Linked DNA regions of Homo sapiens: region 2 is linked to region 1. The links are contacts of gene promoters, found by promoter capture Hi-C in blood cells and fetal thymus (Javierre and others, 2016). All regions are on one chromosome and are shown on one strand. The core of a region is centred on a gene start or on the middle of the fragment in contact, and the rest is flanking DNA. Distances in the headings are between cores, read along the strand shown.

The links. The method cuts DNA at HindIII sites, captures the fragments that hold promoters and counts their contacts. A CHiCAGO score of 5 or more calls a contact.
Region 2: a contact is called between a fragment that was not itself captured here and the fragment with the promoter of SLC25A34 in region 1, in 1 of 17 cell types (endothelial precursors). The highest score is 6.7, in endothelial precursors.

The regions. Positions count from the first base shown.
Region 1 is chr1:15,733,706-15,737,507 of GRCh38, reverse strand. SLC25A34 (solute carrier family 25 member 34) reads right to left here and starts at 1,250. Exons shown (of 5, transcript NM_207348.3): 1 at 645-1,250. The coding sequence starts at 1,022. PLEKHM2 (pleckstrin homology and RUN domain containing M2) reads right to left here. Exons shown (of 20, transcript NM_015164.4): 20 at 2,739-3,711. The coding sequence ends at 3,574. RefSeq lists enhancers at 1,384-2,150, 2,151-2,916. The HindIII fragment of the contact is 4,526 bases long and covers 1-3,802 here.
Region 2 is chr1:15,562,479-15,566,280 of GRCh38, reverse strand. DNAJC16 (DnaJ heat shock protein family (Hsp40) member C16) reads right to left here. Exons shown (of 15, transcript NM_015291.4): 10 at 2,170-2,352; 11 at 1,922-1,998; 12 at 282-362; 13 at 101-199. Among named protein-coding and RNA genes, the nearest start is that of AGMAT, 21 kb to the left of the region's middle. The HindIII fragment of the contact is 2,945 bases long and covers 124-3,068 here.

The DNA.
Region 1 (3,802 bases), core at 1-2,500:
AGCTCTGCCAACTGGGCTCAAGTGATTCTCCTGCCTCAGCCTCCCCGGTAGCTGGGATTACAGGCATGCATCACCACGCCCAGCTAATTTTTGTACTTTTTAGCAGAGACAGGGTTTCACCATGTTGACCATGCTGGTCTCAAACTCCTGACCTCAGGTGATCTGCCCGCCTCGGCCTCCCAAAGTGCTGGGATTACAGGCGTGAGCCACTGCACCCAGCCAAGGGTAGCTTTCTTCAAAACATTTTTTAATTTTTTATTTGTTTTGGGTGGCCCTGAGGCCCCCCTGCAGAGTGCACACGAGGCGGAGGCCCTCAAGGGTAGCTTTTATTCTTATCGTACATGAGGCCATGCGGGAAGAGAAGTAACCAAGCCAGGATTTGAGCCAGCACATCTGACACCCTCTGCCCCCTCCCCTGGCTCAGGACCAGTGGGGCAGGGACCGCAGGGGAGCATGGATCAGAGCAAGGCCCTGGGCCAAGGGGCAGATTCCAGGCTTGGGCTAGGATGTTCCAGGGAGCAGCCCCACCCCGGCTGCCCCACCCCACCCAGGTCCACTGAGCCCTGCCTTTGGAGGCTGCAGGGCCCCTGTGGGAGCTGGGTCATGGGATGGTGGAGGGTGGACGATGGAGACAAGCCACTCACCAGGTAAGCAGGGCTCCCCACGAAGGCTCCCAGTGCCCCCGCCACGGCTCCCGCAACCACGGTGCCACCTGGTTGCTGCGTGAGGCCAGCCTGGCACGCCAGGCTGTAGCAGTAGAAACGAACGCCATTCATGAGGCCTTGGTACAGAAGGCCGGCAGCCAGCCCCTTCTGCAGGCCCCACAGCCCGTCTGCTCGGGCCACAGCAGCGACAGAGGCTATGAAGCCATGGTAGGGCCGTGGGTAGGTGCCCCGGGCCTGCAGCTCCCCCTGCAGCTGCAGCCGCGTCTTCACCACCTCCAGGGGGTTGGTGAAGACACAGGCCAGGCAGCAGGCAGAAGCACCCAGCACCAGGTCCACTGCTGGGGGCACCGTCTCCATGGCCTCCGGGCCAGTGGCCTTCTGTGCCCGGGTCAGGGGCACGGCACAGGCCCTGTGGTGGTGGCGTTTAGGCTGTCTGTAACCTCGCAGGGCTACGGGGCTGGGGTTTGCAGGGGACCGAGGCCATGTCTAGAGGGTAAGGGTCCTGGTCTGACAGGCCTGTGGCTGCCTGGTGTCCCTGGTCTATCTCAGCAGTCCACCTGCTCTGCTCAGCTGTTCCAGCGGTCTGCCGGAGCCTGGGACGCGCCTCCGCCAGCTGCGACCAATCCCAGCTGCCTCTGTGCCCACACCTGCCAGCCGAGGGCGGGCCTGGACCCTGGGATCTGGGGGAAAGGTCACTTGGGACTGGAGGGAGAGCGTGGATAGGGAGAAGGTGCCAACCAGCCCAGGCACCTCCTCCTGGCCTCCCTCTGGCCCTGGGCAAAGGGCTGGCACCCCTGCCTTGCCTCTGGCTTAGCCTGTCCAGCTTTGGCAGAGCCCTAGGCAGGGGGCAAGTGACTGGGAGGTCCCTGGCATGGGGTACACGGCCAACTCCGCCCCTGCCCCACCCTGCCCCTGATATGCCCCTGGTGACTGACTTCCCCTTTCCAGGACTCAAGTCTTCAGTCTGGCTCCCACCGTCTATAGGCCCATGCTCAGCAGGGTCAGAAGTAGAGAAGGGCTCTGGAGCCCTGGGGAGCTGATTGGAATCCCAGGTGTGGCTCTCATGTGTGACCCCTGGGCAAGTCACTTCCTCTCAGAGCTTCAGTTTCTCTCATTTGTAAAATGGAGATACTGACATCCACTCCAGAAGGTTCTGTGGAGGACTGGCGATGAGAAGAGTGTGCCTAGGTCAGTGCTGCACCCGATAAAGGCACCCGCATCGCCTGCTCGCCCCCACCCCCACTGCCTCTGGCTCCTATGCCCCCCTCGCTGCTCCCAGGACTTCAGGGCACCTGGGTGAGTAGGACTTGAGGAGTGACCTTGGCTGGTAAGGACTTGCTGCCAGGCCTGCCCTGGGATGCCCTTTGTGCCCGCTGAGAAGAGAACGCCACCTGGGCCAGCTGTCAGGTGTGTCTGCTCAGGCTGGGGCCGGTACCAACATGCCCACCTTGGCCTCTGCCCCCAGACAGCTCTCTCCTGCCAGGCCACCCTCAGTCACCCAAGGCCCAGTCCAAACTAGAGGCAGAACCACCCAAGTTGGAGTCCCACACCCACCTCCCAGGGCCCACCCCTTCCCTCCCAGGCCCTTGAGGCAGCAATGCTGAGTGGCTTGAGGGCCTCAGGCTCCCGGCCTGGCAGGGTTGTCACCCTCTGGCCAGCCCTGGAGGGGACGGCGCAGCAAGAGGCAGCGAGGACAGCTTGGATTCTCCTGGGTTTGGGCACTCACCCCCGGGGCTGTGGAGGCAGGAGCGTCCTGCCCCGGGGTGGGCTGCAGATGGTGGGCGGCGGTGCAGACGTGCCCTGGGGCTTGAGCTGGTGGCTGCTCCTCCCCTGGCTGCTGCAGCAAACAGGAACAGGACGGAGGGCAAAGGTCGGGCCGAGAAACTCCCAGGGCCTGAGGGTCTGCAGACGGTGAGTCCGCCCGGCAGCGGTGGCTGATCTGGTTCTGCATGTCCCGTGTGTCCCTTGTGTCAGGCACAGGGCAGATGATGGAGGAAGGTTTGCAGAAAAGGGCCCAAGGGATTTGGAGAGCTCCCTTCCCCTACCCTGCTCAAAAAGGGCCAGTGACAAGCCTTGGCAATATAACATGTCTATTTTATTTTAAAAAACAAAACCCAAACCACCTGACCCCTTCCCCAGGAGGCTCTTGACGAAACTCTAGGGAAGGGCCTGGCTCCAGCCAAGCAGGGGACAGTCAGAAGATGTCAACATGGATGCCAGGCTGGTGGGCTCCGCCCTTCTCCAAGCCCCCCATCCACCCCCTTTGCTCCTCGGTGCTACAGGCACTGCCGGGTTGAGGGGACAGGCAGGGCAGGACTGTGGGCATGCAGAGCCTCCTGGCAGCCAGGGAGGGCTGCCCGCCCCCCTGCATCTGGCGAGGCAGGCAGCTGTGTGCGCAGTGATGGAGCTAGGAGGAGGAAACATGCGCAGACACCCCGTGTTCCCGCTTCCCCACGTGGCCAGGAGAGTGTTCAAACACGAACAAGGATGGCTGGGCACTCAGGGCCCCAGCCCCCAACCCAGGAGAGGAAGAGGGGGGTCCCGCCCTCCTGGTTCTTTTGTTCGTCCTTAGATGGATGGTGTTCTCGGTGCCACTCGGCAGAAATTCTGCAGACTGAGGCGGAGGCCCGGGAGGAGGGCGTGCATCCGCAGAGCCCACAGGGCTCGGACCCTCTGCCCCCAGCGACCTCCATTCGCTACCTGTCGGGCAGGATGCCCAGGGGTGCCGGGCACCTGATCTGGATCCCTGGAGTGGAGGGACCCTGTCTTAAGCCACACTCGGTGGTTCTGCCGCCCAGGGCAGGGGTGGACTGTAGGCTCCCGACAGCATGACAACAGCCGTGACAGTGTGCCTGCCGGCTGGCGTGCCTTCCTTTCCTGCCCACCAGGGACGCCAACCAGCTCTGCCTCAGCACCAGGGGTCTCGGGAGGCTCGGCCGCGGCAGAGACTGTCGCTCCGCTGCCAGGCGCTGTGGATGAGGCTCAAGGCATCCTCGAATTTCTTCTTGTTGGAGGCTTCCTGGATCGCCGTGTGGGGGAGGTCCACCTGTGTTGGGGCGTGCAGAGAACAGATGAGGGCCACTGAGGGCCACAGGAGTCTTCAGGGCTTGTGGGCACCAGGCCTGCCTCTGCCTTGG
Region 2 (3,802 bases), core at 347-2,846, 170 kb after region 1:
AGTTCTTCTCTACACTCTATGTTCCAATGCTGCGTTATCAGATGACAGGATCTGGGGGGCAGGTGCCGGGGAGGTGAGTCTGGTGTTTTGTTAGAGAAACCTGCTGTTTTCTTTGGTGAAGCTTGGCTCAGTTTTCCCAGTCTTCTCTTGGGCTTCCTCTTTTTCTGGAGGGCTTGACTCTCGCTCATCATTAGAGTCGCTAAAGTAAGAAAAAAGGAGTTTTACAAAAAAAGTGTCAACACCAACCATGGTGGTGCACCGAGAAGCCACAGGACATTTACCTGAAAGCCTGAACGATGACAGTGCCGAAGAGGATGAAGAGGGCAGAGAAGATCAGGGACAGCAGGGGCATCATTTCCCTCCTAAAACCAAATTAACAAACTATTAGCTCAAGTTAAAATTTCTTCTCTCCAGCTAAAAAAAGATAAAATAAAAATCCCAAACCAAAAACTCTTCACACCAATAAACGCTTACTAATTTCAGGCAAACAGAGCTTTTCTTGGCGGGTGGAGGTGGTGGAGGGGAAGGTAGAGATTGCTCAGTGTTCTAATTCACAGACAGCTTATTCTAAAAGTTTGATTTTGTATCTCAGTATAATAGGCTATGCTCAATAAGTTCTGCATGAGGAAACAATAAAAGGGATAATAAAGGACTTAAGGTGTAAACATGGAAGAATTTTCTGACATTGTGGAATTATTTCCTCAACTTTACTGATTTTTTTCTGGCCAGAAAAATTCAGATGTAGCCCAGAGGGGTGGAGTAGGGAGATAAAATTGATCTTTCAAGATTTCATCTAGGACTGGTGTTCTGAAATTTTATGTACCTACCAACACCCATCAAAGGCTGTCATTTGTCAGGTGCTGTGTTGGGTGCCAGGAATCACAAACACGAATGAGATGTGGTTCTGTCCTTCAGGGGCTCATGGTCTCATCAGTAGGTGGGAGTGGGTATCCCTCTTGAGGTTAATTCACTCATTCCTTTTACATCTATACACTGGACTCCACGTGTGTCAGGCCCTGTGCTGGGCACCAGAGGTTCCCTGATGAAGAGACAGTCCCAGGCTCTGCTGCCCAGAATGGCAGCCATGGGTGATCCTTTCCTAGCCAGTGGGAAAGGGTCAGTCAGCCAATATAAAAAAAGGGAAGTGGCCGGGCATGGTGGCACACGCCTGTAATCCCAGCACTTTGGGAGGCTGAGGTGGGTGGATCACCTGAGGTCAGGAGTTCGAGACCAGCCTTACCAACATGGTGAAACACTGTCTCTACTAAACATACAAAAATTAGCTGGGCATGGTGGTGGGTGCCTGTAATCTCAGCTTCTCGGGAGGCTGAGACAGGAGAATCGCTTGAACCTGGGAGGCAGAGGTTGCAGTGAGCTGAGATCGTGCCACTGCATTCCAGTCTGAGTGACAGAGTGAGACTCTGTCTCAAAAAAAAATAAAAAATAAAAAATGTCCGGGAGCAGTGGTTCACACCTGTAAGCCCAGCACTTTGGGAGGCCGAGGCGGGTGGATCACCTGAGGTCAGGAGTTTGAGACCAGCCTGACCAACATGGTGAAACCCTATCTCTACTAAAAATACAAAAATTAGCCAGGCATGGTGACAGGTGCCTGTAATCCCAGCTACTCAGGAGGCTGAGGCAGGAGAATTGCTTGAACCTGGGAGGCGGAGGTTGCAGTGATCCCCAGATTGAGCCTGGGGGACAAGAGCAAGACTTTGTCTCAAAAAAAAAAAAAGTAAAAAATAAAAAAAAGGGAAGTTACTGAAAGAAAGAAAAAGGGGAATAGAAAATGTGTAAACGTTCTTCCACTTGCCCCATCAAGTGTACCTTGAAATTTAATAATGATGAACTCTTTTCAAAAGAAAAACAGTGATATCAGTATTAACAGAGAAAAAGAAATTCAGCCTGGCAATATCCCTACCAGTTGTTGTGAAAAATGCTATCCCAGCAGTCTGAGATGTAGTCAGAAGCAGAGTAGAACCATCGAAGGAGAAAAACCTATGTAGAGAGAAAATGGATGATGGTCAGGACTAAAGCCGGAAGGGAGAGTCCCTCTACCCTGCAACACAGTGCTGCTGCTGGACCTCTGCTCTGAGCAGAAATCCGCCACCAGCACTGTGTACTCACAAGCCCTCCTGGTGTCCCACCCTTCCCAGCCCCGATGCTCACAGGGGCAAGTTCATCGGTCAGGTCAGGAAGCACTGCTTCAGAGGACAGAAGAGCTGGATCTTTACGCAGCTGGTCGAGATAGCCCAAGAGGATAAATTTGTCACTCTCACTCCCAATCCAAGGGTCTTCCAGGGTTTTATACACCACCCTTCCTGCTGTGTTGCGCCTTTCTAAAATAGACACCTGGAAGAAAAGTAGAGAAAAAACATCAGAAGTTTCAAAAGCATGGTTAAGTTACAGTTGTTTGCTTTTTTTTTTTTTTTTGACGGAGTCTTGCTTTGTCGCCCAGGCTGGAGTGCAGTGGCGTGATCTTGGCTCACTGCAAGCTCCGCCTCCCGGGTTCACGCCATTCTCCTGGCTCAGCCTTCCCAAGTGGCTGGGACTAGAGGCACCTGCCACCATGCCTGGCTAATTTTTGGTATTTTTTTTTTTTTTTTTTTTTTTTTTTAGTAGAGATGGGGTTTCACCATGCTAGCCAGGATGGTCTCGATCTCCTGACCTCGTGATCTGCCTGCCTTGGCCTCCCAAAGTGCTGGGATTACAGCTGTGAGCCACCACACTTGGCCCAGTTGTTTGTTTTTTGAGACAGAGTTTCGCCCTTGTCTCCCAGGCTGGAGTGCAATGGTGCGATCTTGGCTCACTGCAACCTCTGCCTCCCAGGTTCAAGCAATTCTCGTGCCTCAGCCTGCTGAGTAGTTGGGACTACAGACAGGTGTGCACCACACCAGCTAATTTTTGTATTTTTAGTAGAGATGAGGTTTCACCATGTTGATTAGGCTGGTCTCAAACTCCTAGCCTCAAGTGATCCACCCGCCTCGGCCTCCCAAAGTGCTGGGATTATAGGTGTGAGCCACCGCGTTCGGCCTAAGAAATAACTTTTATGGTGACTTTCCTAAGCTTTTGTTAAAAGTTAAAGCTCTTTTTTCTCAATAGACTTTGCTCTATAACCTTGACTTAATATTAATGGAAACCTTTGTTTTTTAGAGAGATTTTCCATGATTGCGAAAATGATGAAAAGTCAGAGGAGAATTTCTTGTTTCTGTAGGAAGTGATGACAATGCAGGAGAAAGGCAGGAGAGATCAACCAGGATGAAGTTAAAGAGGCAGAGGGGGGCAGAAATTTCCAGAGCACATTACCAGTGGCCTAAGGATTTGTAAAATCTAGGATCTAGGATGCTGCAAGACCAGACTTGCCTTAGTAAAAAACTGGTGAAAAGCACTGATGACCTTTACCGTTCACTGATAGAAAACATGGTTTCTGTGGGGGCCTGAGGCTGACATCCAGAATGTAAAAAGACCAGGTCAAAAACTGTTTTAAGAGTAGGCTTTAGGCCAGGAGCAGTGGCTCATGCCTGTAATCCCAGCACTTTGGGAGGCGGGAGGATTGCCTGAGCTCGGGAGTTTGAGACCAACCTGGGCAACATGTCGAAACCCTATCTCTACAAAAAAATACAAAAAATTAGCCAGGCGTGGTTGTGTGTGCCTGTGGTCCCAGCTATGTGGGAGGCTGAGGTGGGAGGATCACTTGAGCCTGGGAGGTCGAGGCTGTAATGAGCTGAGATCATGTCACTGCACTCCCAGCCTGGGAGACAGAGTGAGACCCTGTCTCAAAAGAAAAAAAAAAAAATCAAGA